Regions from separate parts of the Homo sapiens genome. Here regions 2, 3, 4, 5, 6 and 7 are each linked to region 1. The links are contacts of gene promoters, found by promoter capture Hi-C in blood cells and fetal thymus (Javierre and others, 2016). All regions are on one chromosome and are shown on one strand. The core of a region is centred on a gene start or on the middle of the fragment in contact, and the rest is flanking DNA. Distances in the headings are between cores, read along the strand shown. Region 1 holds the start of POLQ (DNA polymerase theta). Region 2 overlaps SEC22A (SEC22 homolog A, vesicle trafficking protein). Region 3 overlaps SEC22A (SEC22 homolog A, vesicle trafficking protein). Region 4 has its middle 6.7 kb from the start of SEC22A. Region 5 has its middle 3.9 kb from the start of SEMA5B. Region 6 overlaps PARP14 (poly(ADP-ribose) polymerase family member 14). Region 7 holds the start of PARP15 (poly(ADP-ribose) polymerase family member 15).

Region 1 (2,786 bases), core at 91-2,590:
CCACCGCCTCCCAGGTTCAAGCAATTCTCCCGCCTCAGCCTCCAGAGTAGCTGGGATTACAGGCACCCGCCATCATACCCGGCTAATTTTTTGTATTTTTGTAGAGACGGGGTTTCACCATGTTGGCCAGGCTGGTCTAGAGCTCCTGACCTCAGGTGATGCACTCATCTCGGCCTCCCAAAGTGCTGGGATTACAGGCGTGAGCCACCACGGCCGGCGAGATCTCTTTTATTTCTTTAATAGTACTCTTCATTTCTGCCCAAGCATATGGCACACTTCATTAACTGACTTGTTTAATGTCTGCCTTATTCTCTAGACTCTTTCTCTTTGAGAGCAGGAACCATTTTATGCCATTTCACTGCCATTTACCCAGTGGCTAGCTTACAGTAGATACTCAGTAAATAGTTGTTGATTGCGTAAAAGGCCAAGAGAAAAATGTTTCATTCACGGAGTAATGTCGCCATCTCGTGGAACTTTAGAATATTGTCATTTAAATCAAAAAAATGTTTTCACGGAAGGAATTGATGGTTCGAATGCTATTTTCCAGATTGTATTCGAGTGTTTTTTTTTTTTTTAATTGGACTGGACCTTTTGAGATTTTTAGTGCTCTAGAACTGCACAGCCTCTTCAGGTCAGGCTTAGGGCCTACTAGTTTTGCTTGGTGAAATGAATTATGCAACTAGGTAATGAATGGTCACCGTTTTACGTTCAGAACTCGTTCGCTTCTACCTTTACAAAAGGGACAACACAGATGCATTACTAAGCTCTTGGCTCATAACGATCCCTGGGGTATATTCAGAGCCCCTTCCTCGCGGCGTTCATATAGTGTCTCAGGGGTCTGTCAGCCAGCAATCCCCAATTCCTCATTACATATTCCTCACAATGCATGCTGGCTAAAATGGAAATTGTGTTCAGAAATAGCCCTGCCCTACCATCATATACTAGGAGAAAGGAGGAAATTATGCTCTATTAGAAACCCTAGGCTATCTTGCATAATGCTTCTCAATCTGAAATAATTTTTTACAGAATACCAATACGTTAAGAAGAGCTACTTCCCTGATCTACCTATTATGGGCAGCCCATTTTATGAAGTTAGCATGGCCTTCCTATTCAAACCAGAAATGGACAAAAGGAGAAGGAAGGCTTTTAGGTCAGTATGGTTATAACTGTAGATTCTGTATTCTTCCTCTTTAATCTATCTCTCATATTAACCAACCAGGAGGTTGGAGGCCGGAAGTCTTAGACGCCAGCGAGAGCCGCTCCTTCCCCACGAGTCTATGGCTTTCGGGTTACTTAAGCCACGGAGAACTCTATGGTTCCGGGGCGGGCCGGGAGGTTTGAGTTTGAAGACTGGCGGGAAGATGTCCGCAGCTGTTGCCAGGCCAGGGTTCTCCCGAGAGGGAGGACGCTGGGACTGTGGCTTGCCCTGATCGGCCGAGAAGAGTTTGCCATGAATCTTCTGCGTCGGAGTGGGAAACGGCGGCGTTCAGAATCAGGCTCAGATTCGTTCTCGGGAAGCGGCGGTGACAGCAGTGCCAGCCCCCAGTTCCTCTCCGGGTCCGTGCTGAGCCCGCCGCCCGGCCTTGGTCGCTGCCTGAAGGCCGCAGCTGCAGGTGCTCCAGGAACCCGGGAGGCCGCGGGCAACGGGGGCAGCTCCGCCGGGCCATGGGTCGGGAGGTGTCCTCACCCCACGGGACTTGCTTCGTTGCATACCCCATTGGGCTTCTACTCCCCTTCTCTGTGACTGGGGCCTGGTGTGGCAGGTCACTTTCTGTTCAGACATACGCGTGTTTTCAGTGATCGCCTGGTATTAATGTTCACGTGGCTTCTGGATCTTTCGACCTTTAGAGAAACAACTTCCTAGTTAGCTTCATCCCATCATCTGTTGGGCGGCTCGTTCCTGGTAGTACCCAGTACTCCTTACAGACCCTTAAGACAGGATTGTTGGGCCTGGAGTACGGCACAGGCTGTTCGGCGTCCAGGGGAAGGCTGGAAGGGATTCGTAATGAGATTGGTTGGGTGTCCCGTGGATGTCGACCCAGTTTTTTAAAATCGTTAGTTGTGCAGTCGTCATGGAACTAAAACTTACTATAAATAGAAACTCACCTAACTTAGCTTTGTAATGCTTGCATATTGCCCTCCTCCCCCAACTACACCCGTAATTCCAACACTCTTTATCTACTGTGTATTGCACGCTTTTTTGTTCGTTTGAGGCTTTTAAGGAATTTTTATTATATGCAGTAAATAACAATTTATTACTTTTCTATACATGGTCAATTTCTCATAAGATTCTTGAAGTCAGGATGTGCTTTAAAGAGCTTCATTTCAACACATAGGAATTCCAACACACGGTGAAGGGCTAACTGTAAAACTCATATATTAGAAGTAAATTAAATTTTAATTTTTTCTTTTTCCTAAAAGGAGAATGCAAGCCTACAGTTCCTGACTACGAAAGAGACAAGCTACTATTGGCAAACTGGGGACTTCCTAAAGCAGTTCTGGAAAAATACCACAGTTTTGGTGTAAAAAAGATGTTTGAATGGCAGGCAGAGTGCCTTTTGCTTGGACAAGTCCTGGAAGGAAAGAATTTAGTTTATTCAGGTATCCAAATTTATGTAAACTAATTACTATTTTTAAGATATGAATGTAAAGAATACTCTATTGAGGTAGTTGTGGTTCGTTTAAAAGGTGAATGAGGCAGTGCTTTATAACTAGAGAAAATCGTACAATATGTGTGAAAAGTGGAGTTTTATTTATATTTAAATTACAAAAGTTTTATTGTTTGA
Region 2 (2,786 bases), core at 193-2,692, 1.7 Mb before region 1:
CAACACAGCGAGACCCTGTCTCTTTAAGAAAAAAAAAGATGAGGATGAAGGTAAACAAAAGCCTCATATAATAGCCACACAATGTATTAGGAGGATACTATTAAAATGTTTATAATAATTAGGGAATATTTACTTTTTAATATTAAGTGAAAAAAGGACATAATGGATACATGTACATGTATGAAAATTTGGTGATAATTTTTATTTTATTCTTTATACATTTCCCCCAACTCTTTTTTGTTATTTTTATTTTATTTATTTATAACTTTTTTATTTTCTTTCTCCACTTTTTAATGTTATTTAATCTTTATTATCTTCTATTTTATGGCACTGTCTTGTAGGATCTCCTAATTCTTTAACAATGAATTAGCATATAATCAGAAAAAATGCTTTTATTTCTTTTGAAAGAAAGTAAGCACCACACCTTAGCATAGATATGTCACTAAATAAATGAAAAAGTTCTGTTAAGTATTAGCAGGGACATAATTTCTTTCTTTCTTTTTTTTTTTTTTTTTGAGATGGAGTCTTGCTCTGTCGCCCAGGCTAGAGTGCAATGGCACAATCTTCGGCTCACTACAACCTCCGCCTCCCAGGTTCAAGCAATTCTCCTGCCTCAGCCTGCGGAGTAACTGGGATTATAGGCACCTGCCACCGCGCTCAGTTAATTTTTGTATTTTTAGTAGAGATGGGGTTTCACCACATTGGCCAGGCTGGTCTTGAACTCCTGACCTCGTGATCCACCTGCCTTGGCCTCCCAAAGTGCTGGGATTACAAGCGTGAGCCACCGTGCCTGGCCAGCAGGGACATAATTTCTTTAAAAGGCATCAACAAGTCTATGGGAAAGAAGATAAGAAATAAAAGCAAGTTGATGACTTCTGCTTTGTAGAAGCTTTTACAAACAATTTTAGAATCCGAGAAATCTTAGATTGTCTGTCCTAAGACCTAAGAAATGGCCCCTGGGCTTATGTAGTCTAAAATCTTCATCTTGCAGAATTGCAAGATGAGATACAAGAAGGTAAAATAACCCATGCAGGGTCACAAAGTTACTGGCAGATGGGACCCAGGTATCTTAACTTCCAGGTCAGCATTTCTACTGAGATATCAAAAGATTCCATTTTTTTTCTAATGTGCCATATGCAAATTACTTCCAGGTTGGTATTAGCCTAATTAATGTAATTGTTTCAAGGTTGAGCCTTAAAGAAATACATGTAATATAAGCCAATGTGAAAAAAGCTTATGCCTTCATAAGGTATCAATTCACAAAAAACTTATTACCATCTCTAAACTCAGAGCAAAGTTAAGAAGTGAAAATAATCTAATTTATATATTACTGTGGACTCCAAAATAAACTTATGAACTTAAAAAAACTATACCCATCCTAAGCCTCCCCAGTTTAAACTTAGATACCAAGAAAAACTTCAGTGCTACGTATTTGAATAAATCCCTTGCTATCACCCTGTGAGGCAGTTAATAATCTGGAAGAAACAAACTTGTGCTGAATCTTCAAACACCATTAATAACATGCAAGAATGTTGATTCATGTGGGTCCTCAAATTTAAATGAGCCTCAAGATACTAGAGATAAATGTAGCAGTCATTTTCAGCATTCAGAAAGAGTGTTTAGAATTCATGGCTTTAAAAAAGTAAGCTTTAATGTCTATATATTACTCAAACTCAGGAAATACACTACATATTTTCAGTCAGATCTAAAATTATAATTCCCAAATAAGTCCTTTGCTCTTAAATCAAGTATCAGAGAAGCAGTAAGCCCACTCAATCTGGGGTACTGCCCTTCCCCCTCCTCTAACATTGTGATATGAATAACACCACTGTAGGTAACTTCAAAATAGATAAAACTTTAAGTCCTGTGTCCTGGGATTTGCACTCAAGTCTTCAGAGCAGACTACCTCAGAAAGTTCTACCTTTACTAACCAAAAATTATCCAGAGTGACGTTTGAGATTATTCCTAATGTAAAATGTAATGATCAACCAGAAAGAGGGCTAAGAGTATGTCTTAAGACTAATGGCTTTAGTGAAAATAAAAAGGATATTTTATCCAATACAAGTTGTGAACAATGATAAAACTTCAATAAGGGAAAATTAAAAGTAAGAGACCTCAGGTTCCCAATTTTGTATGTATTTTCTTTCAGGTTAAGTCGGGCTAAGGATGTACTCGGAAAATCACTCTAGTTTGCACTCTTGAACCTATCTGGTTTAAACCTCTAAAGTTTATCATTGTGTCCATTTACATTCTGACACTTCATTTTCTCCTTTTGTTCACTTATCATCCATTCCATCTTTTAGGACACAGAATCTTTACAAAGCAGAGAATTCTAACACTATATAGTGCTCCTTCATTTATCTTCACAGTGGGAAAAGGAAAGGAAAAATATTCCCAAGCACTAGTCACTTACCAGAACATTGTTGTACTCAATGCAGATATAAAGTCCTCGATAACTGGAACAATGGGAGTTTCTACTTTTGGTCAAGTGGATTTGCAAAGGTACTGATTTTCATTTAGGTGAGAGGATCAGAATTTGCTGGAAAATCTTTTAAAATTACCTATGAATGACAAACTACTTGTGGACTACATTATCCCCAACTTTGCATTCTGTTGTTTCCTTGCTCCTCTTAGAATCACTCTCTCAGGAACCTCAACTACTAAATGAGTGTATGTGGAATACTTCAGGTGGGTTATGGCAGAACAAAGACTTTAAGTGCTAAGGGAACACAGAGGCAGGTACCAATGCCCTCATTTTCCAGATAGCTAAGAATCCCCATATGAAC
Region 3 (2,786 bases), core at 204-2,703, 1.7 Mb before region 1:
GGCTCACACCTGTAATCCCAATGTTTTGGGAGGCTGAGGCAGAAGGACTACTTGAGCCCAGGAGTTAGAGACCAGCCTAGACAACAAAGTGAGATGCCATCTCTACAAAAAATTGTTTTAAATTAGCCAGGTGTGGTGATGCACACCCATAGTCACAGCTACTCAGGAGGCTGAGGCAGGAGGATCACGTGAACCCAGGAGTTCAAGGGTGCTATGAGCTGATTGTGCCACTGTACTCCTGCCTGGGCAACAGAGCAAAACCCCATCTCTAAAAATAAAAATAAAATATTGAATAGAGGGGCTCAACATTAACAAAGTGAGCATATCTTATGAATTGTATTATCACCAAATATGTCTCATAGAAAACAAGATGAAAACAAAAGACTCTGCCACTAGTGGAACAGTAAGGAGATAAGAATGAGGGCTCAGTAACACTGAGTGTCCATTACATGTAGCATTTTACCAGGAACTTTCTATTTTCTCACTTACTCCTTTCTTACATGGCCAACTTTCAATTACCCTCCAATGGTGAAGCGCCACATCATGAATAAATCATCCTATGAATAAAAGACCCATTTTAGCCATAAATTTTAACATCATTAAAAATGAAAATATTTATTAATATGAAATATGCCAGATGATGGTAACTTACAACAGTAACCTAAAGGAGAATCTGAGATCATTTTAAGAAGTCAATGGTAATTACACCATGAGAGACTTGGATAAAACACAGAACAAGCAAAGTTTGCCTTTGACATCTTTATTTCCTTTTCTTCAGAGTTAATCTCCCAATTCACCCTTTCTCACTTCCCTAACACAGCCACACTCCAGAGAATGAAGATCCTGACTTTTTTAGATAACTGATCAGATAATCCCTAACTTACATATTGGGTATATTTCCCAAAGCTTATTGCATCTAGATCTCATTTTCCCACAGAAACTGTACTATAACAGTAATTAGGTTCCTAGGCCAGTTCACAAGAGCCTATTTAACATACATGGTGCTGAAAAGCTGTACATTTTGCCATAATAAGCAGGAGAAAAGGAATGTGATACTAGTAATGAGACAAAATAGGAAAATTGAATACCCAGGTTATCTCCTTCCCCCAACTGGTTTAGTAGTTATAGGTTGGTTGCATTTCCCTGCCACACCCTCTCCCTGCCAAACACCTAGTCTACAATGAGACAATGCTGTCCCATCAATTTTAGGATTCACACATACTCTGTTCCTCATTATTATTGACCAAAAAAAGAGGGGGGTGGTATTTCCCTTCATTCTCTTCCCTGGTTCATTTCTCTCTCCATAAAAAGTGAAAAGAATTGGGAGAATTAGGAACACATGCTGCCAAGAAAGGGGTTAAGGGTAAAGAGCAGCAGCCATTTTTTACCAGATAATAATGCGATGCCTGAATCCAAAAGATTGTGGTTCATATATATCATTTACTATTTTTGTGACGTTGAAGGAGCTCCTTTACATTCCTAAGTCTCATTTACCTTATCTGTAAAATAGGGTAGTGATAGCACTACCCAGCATCTACCTGCCCAGCATCCCTTCCCTCTTTCCCTTTGGGGAATTACCTTCAGCGCCATTCTGTATGGCTTTGGTAAAGCTCAAAGGGGTAAGGACATGTGATGCAGTCTTAGCCAAATAAGAGTACCTCATCCCCTCTGACTACAATGATTAATCAGTCTAGAAATGGTCAATTATACAAGCAAAGACAATGTCTTGTTCTTGAGACATGGAGAGGAGTTGCTCAGTTGGACTGAAGTAAGCCTGGAGCTGTCTGTGTAGTGCTTTCAAGTCGTAGAGAGTATCTATCTGCAAAAGGTGAGAGACTGTAGAAATGAGAAAGATTCCTGATAACATCTGTGAAGCCAGCTCCACCACTACCCTTCAAAATACCCATTTTTCCTTAAGCTAATGTGAGTTGTGTGTCTGCCCCTGGCAATGGAAAAGAGCTCTATTTAATAGCCCTTCACAGAGCTGTTAGAAAGCTTAATGATAATGTCAGTAAAGTACCTGGCAATAGCAAGTACTCAATAATTGGGTTATAGTTTAAGTTGTTACTCTAGTAATCAGAAAATTTCCCGAAAGAGTGAAAGGGAAACACTGCTAGACACTAAAGCCAAAATGCAGGTAAGCCTAAAACAGTATTCCTGGCTGGAGGTAGCAGTGTAGGGAGAAAGTGAACCCTCAGGCAAGGAAAAAACATTAGGAGGCTCACAGCGATTATACGGCTTCAAATGAATTCACAGTGAAAGAACTAAAAAATTTTACTTCTTGCACTAAAATTCACAATAGGATATGATTGGCTTCCCAAAAGGTATTTGTCTTTTCAGCATCTTACTGTTTAAATAAAGAGATTTCAAAATGTACAACTATGATTTTTAAATCTCTAAAGCCAACTGCAAAGTTTTAAAGATCTCAGATGACCCAACCTAATTTCCATATGGTTCATACTTACTTTAGCCATGTTTTTTTCTTAAGTGGTAACATAAGTTTATTCATTAAAAATTCATTACAGTCTAAGGAAAGTACCCTTCGACTTATAAAACAGATGAATTCCTTAAAATTTTATATAGAGAGAATTGGAATATCACTATAGAATGTGAGAAGAAATCACAAAACTGAACACCCCACACTACACACCATCCTGCCCAATCAACAAGGTTTCTCTGGCACTCTGAATGCTGTCATATTCCTAAAACAACCATCCCTCATTTAGTAGCTACTACGACATGCACAAGGAACTGTGCTAGCACAAGCCATGCTCCACAGAATGTCC
Region 4 (2,786 bases), core at 128-2,627, 1.6 Mb before region 1:
GAGCGGAGCTTGCGCCACTGCACTCCAGCCTGGGCGACAGAGCGAGATTCTGTATCAAAAAAAAAAAAAAAAGAAAAAAGAAAAAAAGAAACTCAAATTCACACAAAAGGAACAAAAAGTATCAGAAAATGTGAATATATGAATTAATATAAAACTTTTCCTCTTTTGAAAATGTATATAATTAACCACGTAAAGCAAAAGTGGTAACAAATTGTTTTTGTTACCACTTTTGCTTTAATCACTTAAAGCAAAAGTGTAACAAAAATAAAAATGTTTACAACAAATGAAGAAGTAAAACATATGTTAATGATATTGTAAGGGAAAGGGGAATGAATATATACTGTTAGAAGGTTTTTAACACCATGCATGAAGTGGTGTAACTGTATTTGAAGGTAGAACGTGATAAGTTAAAGATACATATTAGGGCTGGGCGCGGTGGCTCACGCCTGTAATCCCAGCTCTTTGGGAGGCTGAGGCGGGTAGATCACCTGAGGTCAGGAGTTCGAGACCAGCCTGACCAACGTGGTGAAACCCTGTCTCTACTAAAAATACAAAAAAAAAAAAAAAAAAATAGCTGGGCATGGCGGGCACCTGTAATCCCAGCTACTTGGGAGGCTGAGGCAGGAGAATCACTTGAACCTGGGAGGTGGAGGCTGAAGTGAGCCGAGATGGTGGCACTGCACTCCAGCGTGGGCAGTAGAATGAGACTCTGTGTCAAAGAAAAAAAAAAAATAGCCATCTGATACATTATCCTCTACCTACTCTTTTCTCCATATATCTTAAATGTCTGATACCTTTGGTCTTATGTCGGATCAGAATGGTCAGGCTTTTATATCCTTGCTTCATAAAGTCACCAGATGTGGATTCCCCCAAGATGGGCATGATATCAAACAAGGTAGCTCTCCAAAGGTGAAGCACATACAAAAAGCTATCAGCTGGAGGCTACCTGCTGACTCTCCCTGCAGCTGGGTGGCAAGTCCTCCCTTGAAGGAGGACCCAGACAGGGAATTTCTGTGTCTGCCACAGACATACATTGTTTCCGTAGGATTCCCACCAAAAATGCGAAACCAGAAAATAATCACATGGAAACATTAAAGTAACCCTAATTGAAAGACATTTTTCATAACAAATGGCCCCATACCCTTCAAAAATGTCAATGTTAAAAAGATAAAGACTGAGGATATTTTCCAGATTAAAGGAGACTAAAGAGACACGAAAACTAAATGCAGTGTAGGATCCTGAATTAGACCCTAGACTAGAGGAAGAAATAGCCATAAAGAACACTATTTGGACAACTGATGATATTTGAATATGGACAGTAAATTAGATAGTAGTACTGTATCAATACTAAATTTATTAATTTTGATCATTTTAATTTTATTTTAGTTAAGATTAAGTTTTAAAATTGAAGCAATGTAGAACTTTAAAAATATTGATTATATGTGTTGAAATGATAATATCTTGATATGTAGTTTAAAATATATTATGGTCAATGTTATCTGTTTCCTTTTACTTTTTTAAGGTGGCTACTGGAAAAAAATCACATATGTAGCTTACATTCTATTTTTATGGGACAGCACTGTTTTATACCGTTACTTTTTCATAATATATAATCAAGATTATTTGTAGCACTCCCCCCATCCCGTGTTTTTTTTTTTGCACTTTCGGATTTCTCTATTGGTATGTGAGCCAGCTCTCTGGAAGGCCTGGGCTTTTAATCTGTGACGGGAGATAAATGGTTAAGACTATGAAGTCACCTTTGTGCAGCCAGTCTGAGGGAGCCCCCAACTCCACCGCCAGGCTCCAGGTGGAGTTGCTGGGGCGGCGGGGCGGGGCGGGGGGAGGTGCAGATGTGTATTTGGGTAGGATTATGTCTGAGTCTTGGAACAGAGCGCTACAGAACCAGGGGAAAAGAGTTGCCAGCAGGAGGGGCTGGAGAGGCTGGGGCTGGGATGGAAGCAGGGATGTCTCAACGCTGCATTTGCATCAATAGTTTTGCCACCATCACATCGTTTCCTTGTCTCTAACACTGTATGTCTAGAGCTGTCCTAAACACAAAGGTGTCATATTTATATTATGTTATTTTTCTTTCAGGTTAGCACCATCTTTGACAGCAATATTTCTAAAAAACAGAAAGAAAAGTTTCTTATCTGTATCTTGGAAATTCTGAAATAACATTCCCACTGTGGTATAAATGGTTTATTATTCAATGTTGTGTTTTAATTAATGCTTCACATATTCAACAAACATTGTGCATCCTCTCTGTGCTGGGCAGTGACAGCGATAAATATGATATGGTCCCTCCTTTAAGGCACTCACAGGATGGGGAGAGAAACATGTATAAAGACAATGACAACTGCTATGGTCTGAATGTATCCTCCAAAATTCATATGTTGAAACTCAATTGCCAATGTAATAGCATTAAGAGGTGGGGCCTTTAGGAGTAATCAAATCGTGAAGGCCCTCATAAAAGGGATTGAGGGAGTGGGTTTATGCTCCTCCACTCTTCCACCATGTGAGACACAGCATTTGTCCCCTCTAGACGATGCAGCAACACGGTGCCGTCTTGGAAGCAGAGATCAGGCCCTCCCCAAATACCAAACCTGCTGGTGCCTTGATCTTGGACTTCCCAGTTTCCAGAACTGTGAGAACCAAGTTTCTGTTGTTATAAAATTACCCAGTCTAAGATATTTTGCAATAGCTGTACAAATAGACTAAGACAGCAGCCAAACGAGATAAATGCCAATAAAACCTGACCAAATGTCTCTGGGAGGATTTCAAAGGGA
Region 5 (2,786 bases), core at 174-2,673, 1.5 Mb before region 1:
AAACTAGAAATGTAACACAGGGAACAAAAATGGTTCCAGAAAAATTGCGTGTATGTGGGATTGATGAACACTTTTTGTGGGTTTCAGAGCTAATTCTCCCCTCTGTTGTGATTTGGAATGCTGCAGGTGGTTAACTGGGTTGAAAAACAATTAGCATGTTTTACTATAATATACATTTTCTATTAAAGAGTTTTTAAGTGCTAATATAAATATTAACTAATAAGCAATTGGAGAAAAAAATTTATATGGAAAAATCTCAGTTCAAGCCTAGCTCTGAAAATTACCAATTGCATCCCTGATTCCTATCTGTAAAATGAGGATAATAATCATTCATTTATTAAATCATTATTTTGTACCTTTAAAAGAAACCACCAAACAAACAAAAACCAAGCCCTGTTCTGTAAGCTGGGGCTATAGTGATGAACAAAGCAGGCAAGGCCTCTGCTCCTGTGGAATTTATATTCTGGTCAGGGGAGACAGACAATAAATATGTACAATGTCAGATGGTGATAATGACAAGTATTTGTCATTTTTGAAAAGATGGTAATACATCTCTGATGAATTGATATTTGAGCAGAGATTAAAGGAAGTGAGGAAATGACCTATGTGGACATTTGGCAAAAGAGCTTTCCAGGCAGAGAGAGCATCAAGTACAAAGGCCTTGAGGTGAGAGCCTTGGGTGTGTGAGGAATAGCAGAGAGGCTGGGGAAGCCTGAGAGAAGTGAGGATAGGGAGAGCGCTAGCAGATAATGTCAGACAGGCCTTGTGGGGCTGCTAAGGCTTTTTCTCTAGAGAGCTGGGGAGCCATAGAAGGTTTTTGAGCAGAGGAGTGATAGGATCTGAATTAGGACAGCTTCCGTGTGGAGAACAGACTGTAGGTACAAAGGTTAGAAATGGCAGAGCAAACATCCAGGGGAGAGAAGAGAGTGGTTTGAACTAGGGCACAAGTAGAAGAGGTGGGGAGAAATGGTAAGATTCTGAAAATATTTCAAAGATAGAGACGACAGGATTTATGGATGGTCTGAATGGAGGGTATGAAATGACTTCAAGCTTTTGACCTTGAGGAACTGGAAGAATGGAGTTTTTACTTACTAGGATGGGGAAGACTGAGGGAGGAGCTGGCTTGGAAAAACAAATCAGAAGTTAAGTGTTGGGTATGTTAAGATAGAGATGTCTCTTAGATGGTCATGCAGAGGAGGGGCAGGCAGTTGGTTCTATACATCCAGATTTTAAGAGAGAGCGAGAGGGCCGGAGCTGCAGATACAAACTTGGGCATCATCCGCACAGAGAGGTTTACAGCCAGTGACTGGACAAGCTTATCTAGGTCTTCAGTGTAGCTGTCTCCCTCACATGGCTGTGAAGGTCAAAGGGGATAGTATATGGCAAATAGTTTTGTAAACTGTAAAGTGCTATACACAAGGAAAGGAACAAGTGTGCAAATACGGTAAAGAGCATAATGTAGAGCAGGATTTAAAGAAGTATCTTCAGGTAGAGACAGAATCATAGAATACATGTGCAAGGAGAAGCTTACAAACCAGTGGATCAACCCCTTTCATTTTATCCAGGAGGAGCTAAGGTTGGAGAGATTAAGAGGCTTGTCCAAGGACACTCAGCTCATCAGTGGCCCAGCTCATCCTAGGACTGGGGAGCCCTAACTGCTGGTGCGGTGCTCTTTCCACCACATGAAACACCTGCTCACATTTACTGCTTCAGCTCTCTCTGAATCTGTTAACCAGGGGCAAGTAATTCTTCAAACAGAAATCTAATTATATCGCCTTGTGCTTTTATACATGCTACTTCCTCTGCCTGGAATACTCTGCCTCCTCCTGCTTCTCTGTCTGGCAAATTCCTGCCTTATCTTCCATTCTCAGCTAGAATGGCCATTTCCAATGAAGACTTCTTTGTCCTGTTTGGTAGGATGGTAACTGGCTCTCCATGTGCCCGCAGAGCTCCCATCCTGTGGCAGTCCTTGCATTTGCTATGATTACGTCTGCCTCCCCTGCCTGCCTGTGAAGCTCTTCCTATGACCTCTCTGCCTAGCTTAGTGAGTGACACTTAAATGGGAAGGAAGGAAGGAAGGAAGGAAGATCTCTTCTTTCACATTAGTTCAGGACAATGGCAAAGCAGTCATTCAGTGACACTTCAGTTCCTCTGACCTGAGCAAGGTTTTGGTTCACAAATTGACAATGACTTCTGGGGTGGGAATTTTCTTTTTTCTTTGCCATCCCCAGGCACAATGAGCAGGCAATTCTGGGAGCAGAAAACAATTTGGACATTATACGTGCTGTCTTTTTATTTTCAATTCTCTGTCTCCTATTAGTATATGACTGGCTGTTTGCCTTTTGCTGCAAGACAAGGTTTGTGTTTGTGCCTGGGCTATGCACAAGCATGTGTACACACACACACACACATAGAGGGGAGAGAGAGAGAGAGAGAGAGAGAGAGAGAGAGAGAGAGAGAGAGAGAGAGAGAGATGGCCTCTTGGGAGAGCCTGCACTCATTTTTTAGCTTTATCTCCCAGAAAATGCCCTCAGGTGGGAGGAAGAAGACAGTGTTGTGCTCCTAGCTTTTCCACCCTTTCCTGCTCTTGAGCATGAGAATTTGGATCTATTTCTTAAACTCTTTCAACCTTAGTTCAAGATAAGTTTGGAATTTCTAGGTCAAGAGTGAATCCTAAAAACTCCGTCACCCCCTATATTCACCGCTCTTTAGCTTGTTTGCTTGAGATAACACTGTGTTAATTACTATATTTCCATTCTGCTTAATTACAATGTTTCGGTAGAAGA
Region 6 (2,786 bases), core at 171-2,670, 1.1 Mb before region 1:
TATTTCTAGCACAGCACCAGACTAAAATTATTCAACAAAGCTTCTCAAAAGCGAGACACATGTTTATTCATCCTTGTATTGCTAGCATATGGTATATAATTGAGGCTCAGTAAATGTTTGCTGAATTGGAGATTTACTGCTTGGGTCACTGGAGGAAAGCAAGACTATCTGATGATGCCCAAACATGGGTATCACCTAACACATTATACTCCAAAAAATAGTTAAGTTCCCATCACTGAAAAGAAAAAAGGATCCCTATAGCAAATGATTAAGGAATACACACAGAAAGTGAAATGGCCAAGGCCTGCTGTATACGAAGCCCGCTGAATGGCAATCACCCAGCTGACTCATTCCTCTCCACTGTTGACTGTAAAAATGAGTTACACATACACACAAGGTCAGTCTCACTGTATGCTTGTCCACTGAAGCATGGTGGGTACGATCTGATCTTTAGGCATTCTGTGGACAGTTTTTCAATGGGGACTCTTATCGTGTTCAAGACCCTGGATGTAAGGAGAAGTAAGAATATAAAAAAACATTAGTTAAGAAATTTACAGATTTTCTAATGGAGGTATATGAGGAAAATGACATGTGTAAATGTTCGCAGTGGCCACATAAAATGCTCTGTGTGCACCAAATCCATTTTGCTTACTTCCTGGACAATATTTCTCAAGTTTTCTGCAGTTCAGTTTCAACAGTAGTGTCCCTGCAGTTAATGGAATATGGGTGGAAGTGAATTCCACCTTCAGGCCTGGCCAATATAAATATCCTTAATATGAAACCCCATTCTCCCTTGCAGTGACCTTGGAAACCACATTTAAAGATAATGGTGTCAAAGGGTGGAAGGAGCCTGGGTCCCTGAATGACCACATGAAGTGACTGACACTCCCACCACCATCACAGCTGCCAACTACACTGAACTGTGATGCGAAGGAGAAATAAACTTGTGTTGTGGCCAGGCGCAGTGGCTCATGCCTGTAATCCCAGCACTTTGGGAGAACGAGGCAGGCGGATCACTTGACATCAGGAGTTCCAGACTAGCCTGGCCAATGTGATGAAACCCTGTCTCTACCAAAAATACAAAAATTAGCCGAGTGTGGTAACACACGCCTCTAATCCCAGCTACTCAGGAGGCTGAGGCTGGAGAATCGCTTGAAGCTGGGAGGCGGAGGTTGCAGTGAGCCGAGATTGTACCACTGCACTCCAGTCTGGGCGATTCCGTCTCAGAAAAATAAATGAATAAATAAACAAACAAACTTGTGTTGTGTTAGGTTACTGATTTGGGAGGTTGTTTGTTACAACAGTTAGACCACTCTGTTGTGTGCTGGCTATCATGCCATGCACACACACTCATGCTAAATTAAAAAAAAAATAGCTTAAGCATAAAGCAACTACATAAATTAGCACTAAGTGAGACAGGTATGACAAATCACAATGACTGCTGGGCTAGGGAGGAGGCTATATGTGTTTAATCCCTGCTGCCACTCTTTAGCCATGTGACCTTGGGCATGTCTCTTAATCATAAAATGAGGGTATAGGACTAAGTGAACTGGACTGAAAGAATCTTTCCAGCAATATAGTTTTATAATCCCATCAATATTAGACGCTTCACCACAAGAAAGGCTTAATTGACCAAAAAAGAGCATTAACAATCAGGCCAAGAGTCCCAGAAAGAGATAAAAGGGCTGGGCTGGCATGGAAAGACTTGAGAGAAGAGGAGGAAGTTCAGCAGGTCTTGAAGGGTATGTGGAATTGGGTAGAGAAAAGTGGGCTAGAGGGAATGGTGAGCAACAGAAGCACAGGCAGAGTGCTGCAACTGCATCAGACAATTTAGAAAACAGTGATTTGACTGATGTGGCTCAAAAGGCGCACAATTGTGCAGAATGAAGAAAATGAGGCCAGAAAAGCAGACTAGATCCAGAAGGTGGTCTGGACTTTATCTCCCAGCTTGTGGTAAGGGTGAGTCATGGAAGGTTTCCATGAAAAGGATGGCAGGCTATTTAGCAATAGTGCAAAGGGCTGGTCAGGTTTAAGGAGAAGGGTGGCAGACACAGACAGAGCAGGCAGGGAGCTCCTGCCATGTTGAACTTGTGAGGTAAAAAGGAAGGGCCCGTGGTGAGAGAAGGATGGATAAGGAAAACTTTAAAAGAAAATGAGGCTGGGTGCAGTGGCTCATGCCTGTAATCTCAGCACTCTGGGAGGCCAAGGCGGGAGGGTCATTTGGGGCCAGGAGTTCAAGACCAGCCTGGGTAACATAGTGAGACCACGACTCCACAAAAAATGTTAAAAATTGGCTGGGCATGGTAATGCATGTTATAATAGCCCCAGCTACTTAGGAGGCTGCTGTGGGAGGATTGCTTGAGCCAGGGAGGTCGAGGCTGCAGTGAGCCAAGACAGCCTGAGCAACAGAATGAAACCCTCTCTCCAAAAACAATAAAATAAAATAAATAGGTCTCTATGATCAGCAGATGTGAAAGGAGTGATGCGTGAAATGTCTAGTAGGTGACGAGCAGACTGATTGTGTACTTCAAGAGAAATGAGGAAGCCAGAAAGGGCCCTTGCTTGGGGAGGAAGATGACACATGTGGCTTCAGGCATGTTGGCTCTAATATACTTCCCAACAGGAAGGTCAGACAGAAGTTCTGGAATTGAGAGAGGAGTCCAGGCTGGGGATATGGATTTGAAAACACCAGAATTTCCGACCACAGGTAAGCAGTATTTCTCTGCTCTTGCCCTTGTCTCTTCTCCAGGACCTTCCAAGTGCTGGTTTCCACCTTTCAGACCCAG
Region 7 (2,786 bases), core at 161-2,660, 1.0 Mb before region 1:
ACATACACACACAAAAAAGTTTAAAAAGTCATGTATTGTAATTGTTTTTAAAAGTTATTCTAGTGACTTTCCAGCTTAAAATTTGGAGGCAAATTTTCCTTAAGAGGATATGAAGTACCAGTATCTACAATTGTTGAAAAGCTGTTACATATGTCCCACCAATTCACAATTTAATATCATATACATTACATACTCAAATTTTCAATCTTTCACAGCACAGTAGGTTAGACCATGTCAACACCACCTAAAGATATCAGCTCTCTGTAATTTATTAATTTAATGCAATCCCAATAAAAATTCCAAAGAGCTTTTCTTTTTTTTTTTTAAACTGATCATACATCAGAAAAGTTCATAAGGAAAAATAAACAACAAGAATAGCTAGGAAAATAGTGACAAGGAAGCACTCTCTAGGAAGACTAGCCCTGACATTAAAACATACAGCAAAGCCTCTCTAAAGCAGATGAATAAACGGGTCAATGGATGAAAATAGAAGGTCCAGAAATACCCGAACCACATATGAAAGTCTAGTACATGATAAAGCTGGTATCTCAAGTTACTGGGACAGTGACGACCTTTATAATAAATGGTGTTGGGACACTTGATACCCATTTGAAAAAAAATAATTAGATTCACTCCTCAAACCACACACAATAACACACTCCAAATGTATTATAGATCTAAATGTAAAAAATACATCAGTTCAAGTACTAGAAGCAAGCATGAGTGAACTCTTCTATAACTTGGGTGTAGGGAAGAGTATGACTAAAAGTCATATATTAAAATATGACTAAAAGTCTAGACGTCATAAAATAAAAGACTGGTAAGTCTTGCCACACAAAATTTAAAATATTTGCATGGCAAAGAGAAACAAAAGCCCCCCATAAGCAAACTCAAAAAACAAAAAATAAATTGGGAGGACATATTCATAACACATATCACGAATAAAGGACTCATATCCTTTCAAACTTTATAAAGAACTTTTAAATTTTAAGGGAAAAAAAAAAAAAACCACCAGAAATGCTAAGGAAAAAGAAGCAGCACGCATCCCCCTCTTCCGGAACAGGGAAGTCAGTGTAGTCGGCGCCCCCTAGAAGAGAGGGTTGTGCGTGGCGTGGGGTCTCTGCGCCCGCTCGGGCTGCTGGGTCTTGCGGGCCCCAGGCTCAGCCCTGCTGTCCCCTTCCCGCACCCGTCCCCCGCGCTCCTCACCATACTCCGGGAGGAAGAGCGCCGGGAGGCCTTCCGCGCCCCACGGTTCCCGGCCGGCAGCACGCTCCCCGCCTCCCGATCTCGTCCGGCTCTGGAAGTAACACCTGCAACTCCGTGCATAAGTTCTCTGGGGGTCGGAGCCCCTGGACTCAGAGCAGCGGCAGGAAGGGGGCCTGGCGCAGCCATCCTCAGCTCGCTGGGACTGCAGTTGCGCCCCACCCAACAGGCTTGTGCCTCGAACTTCTTTTCTCTGAAAACCGCTTCCGTCAAAGATTGAGGCCTCGAGTTTGCGAACAGCTGCCTCAGGATTGTGTCGCCCTTTGGGACAGACGTTACTGCCAGACAAATCCTGGGTCAAAATCCTGAGGTCTGCAATTTTATTAGTTATGTAGCCTCAGTCAATAGCATCTGTACAGTGGGCACAGCCATAACTATTTCATGTTATTATAATGAAGATTAAATGAGATAAAGTCTGTAGAATGCCTGGCACATTAAAACACAGGAATCAGTATTCCTTTCCTTTTCTGTTGGGCATCCCACTCCTTTCCCCCCAATTCTCCCTACACACCCATATTTAGAAAAATACACTGGGTTCTCTCCTGTGCTCCCTAAGCCAGGGCTGGAGTCAGGTTCCCCTCTGGCCCAACAGGGCATTATTTAATTCAATCAACGCGTATTGAAGGCCTTTGATATGCCTGGCACTGTGTTAAGATTATAAAGATGAATTAGACACAGATCCCCTCTCTTTGGAGTGAGGGGTGAAGTAGGAGGTGGAGAAATAAAACATAGATTAATACTGTTACCTGGTGTATCACGAAAAGTCCTGGCAGTATACAGATGGTATACTCAAAATTAATAATTGAAGATAATTTAATAAAGAAATTATTTACACAGGTGTGGGCAAAGGGTTAAGGAAACCATTGAGAGATGGTGAAGTAGCCTCCTCCCCTTACCATCTAGGCTGAAGGGGCAAGGGAGGGGGCATCTCCTGAACTTGGTAAGAGCTATACCAAGTGCCAGCAGGTAGAACCCATGACTGCTTTCGGAAGACAGCCAGGGGAGTATAAGCATCCCAAGTACTCTCTCCGTGTGCCTTCCAATCTCGTGCTGGTACCTCCCACTGCAGAACCCAATGAGTAATCAGAGAATGGAGCTGATGTGGTACTTAGAGGTCAGCCCTCAGTACCACCTCCAAGGCAGAGAGCAGGGTAAAAGGTTTTGGTATCGTATTTGCATTGAGATACATATAAAGTATTAGGATAACAGAAATCAGTGGTTCGTTGTAATTTAGAGACAAGATTGGAGAAAAGTTTCTATAGTAGTGGCATTTCAGTAAGACCTTGCATGATGAGTAGGGGACTTTCTAAGAGGAAAATCAGGTGAAGAATGAGAATGAGGTGTGTCTCTCTCTCCCTCTCTCTCTTCAGAGTTCCCTTTTTCATCATCTGTCATGCAGAGAGCAGCGATGGGGGTGGATTACACAGAACAAAGATCACATGAATGAAAGCATAGACTGTGCTTTGGAAAATCTTGTAGTCTGGTGTGACTGAACCCTAGGGACTTGGTGGTGAGGAAGGAGC

The links. Contacts are between HindIII fragments. The CHiCAGO score rates a contact against its expected background, and 5 or more counts as called.
Region 2: a fragment that was not itself captured here is called in contact with the fragment with the promoter of POLQ in region 1 in 2 of 17 cell types (naive B cells and total B cells); the score reaches 8.1 in naive B cells.
Region 3: a contact is called between a fragment that was not itself captured here and the fragment with the promoter of POLQ in region 1, in 1 of 17 cell types (fetal thymus). The highest score is 5.1, in fetal thymus.
Region 4: a fragment that was not itself captured here is called in contact with the fragment with the promoter of POLQ in region 1 in 1 of 17 cell types (total B cells); the score reaches 5.9 in total B cells.
Region 5: a fragment that was not itself captured here is called in contact with the fragment with the promoter of POLQ in region 1 in 10 of 17 cell types (total B cells, naive B cells, naive CD8 T cells and 7 more); the score reaches 17.7 in total B cells.
Region 6: a fragment that was not itself captured here is called in contact with the fragment with the promoter of POLQ in region 1 in 1 of 17 cell types (naive CD8 T cells); the score reaches 7.1 in naive CD8 T cells.
Region 7: a contact is called between the fragment with the promoter of PARP15 here and the fragment with the promoter of POLQ in region 1, in 2 of 17 cell types (neutrophils and activated CD4 T cells). The highest score is 6.3, in neutrophils.

The regions. Positions count from the first base shown.
Region 1 is chr3:121,544,542-121,547,327 of GRCh38, reverse strand. It overlaps POLQ (DNA polymerase theta), which reads left to right and starts at 1,340. Exons shown (of 30, transcript NM_199420.4): 1 at 1,340-1,613; 2 at 2,422-2,601. The coding sequence starts at 1,451. RefSeq lists enhancers at 1,192-1,486, 1,378-1,607. The HindIII fragment of the contact is 11,524 bases long and covers 1-2,786 here.
Region 2 is chr3:123,251,442-123,254,227 of GRCh38, reverse strand. The region is part of intron 5 of SEC22A (SEC22 homolog A, vesicle trafficking protein); the gene reads right to left. Among named protein-coding and RNA genes, the nearest start is that of SEC22A, 51 kb to the right of the region's middle. The HindIII fragment of the contact is 414 bases long and covers 1,236-1,649 here.
Region 3 is chr3:123,214,330-123,217,115 of GRCh38, reverse strand. All of the region lies in intron 2 of SEC22A (SEC22 homolog A, vesicle trafficking protein), which reads right to left. Among named protein-coding and RNA genes, the nearest start is that of SEC22A, 14 kb to the right of the region's middle. The HindIII fragment of the contact is 1,089 bases long and covers 909-1,997 here.
Region 4 is chr3:123,193,822-123,196,607 of GRCh38, reverse strand. No RefSeq gene overlaps it. Among named protein-coding and RNA genes, the nearest start is that of SEC22A, 6.7 kb to the left of the region's middle. The HindIII fragment of the contact is 6,224 bases long and covers 1-2,786 here.
Region 5 is chr3:123,030,311-123,033,096 of GRCh38, reverse strand. No RefSeq gene overlaps it. Among named protein-coding and RNA genes, the nearest start is that of SEMA5B, 3.9 kb to the right of the region's middle. The HindIII fragment of the contact is 211 bases long and covers 1,318-1,528 here.
Region 6 is chr3:122,688,979-122,691,764 of GRCh38, reverse strand. The region is part of intron 3 of PARP14 (poly(ADP-ribose) polymerase family member 14); the gene reads right to left. Among named protein-coding and RNA genes, the nearest start is that of PARP14, 9.5 kb to the right of the region's middle. The HindIII fragment of the contact is 2,756 bases long and covers 43-2,786 here.
Region 7 is chr3:122,576,274-122,579,059 of GRCh38, reverse strand. PARP15 (poly(ADP-ribose) polymerase family member 15) reads right to left here and starts at 1,410. Exons shown (of 12, transcript NM_001113523.3): 1 at 1,207-1,410. The coding sequence starts at 1,392. RefSeq lists a silencer at 1,054-1,103 and an enhancer at 1,164-1,443. The HindIII fragment of the contact is 6,929 bases long and covers 1-2,786 here.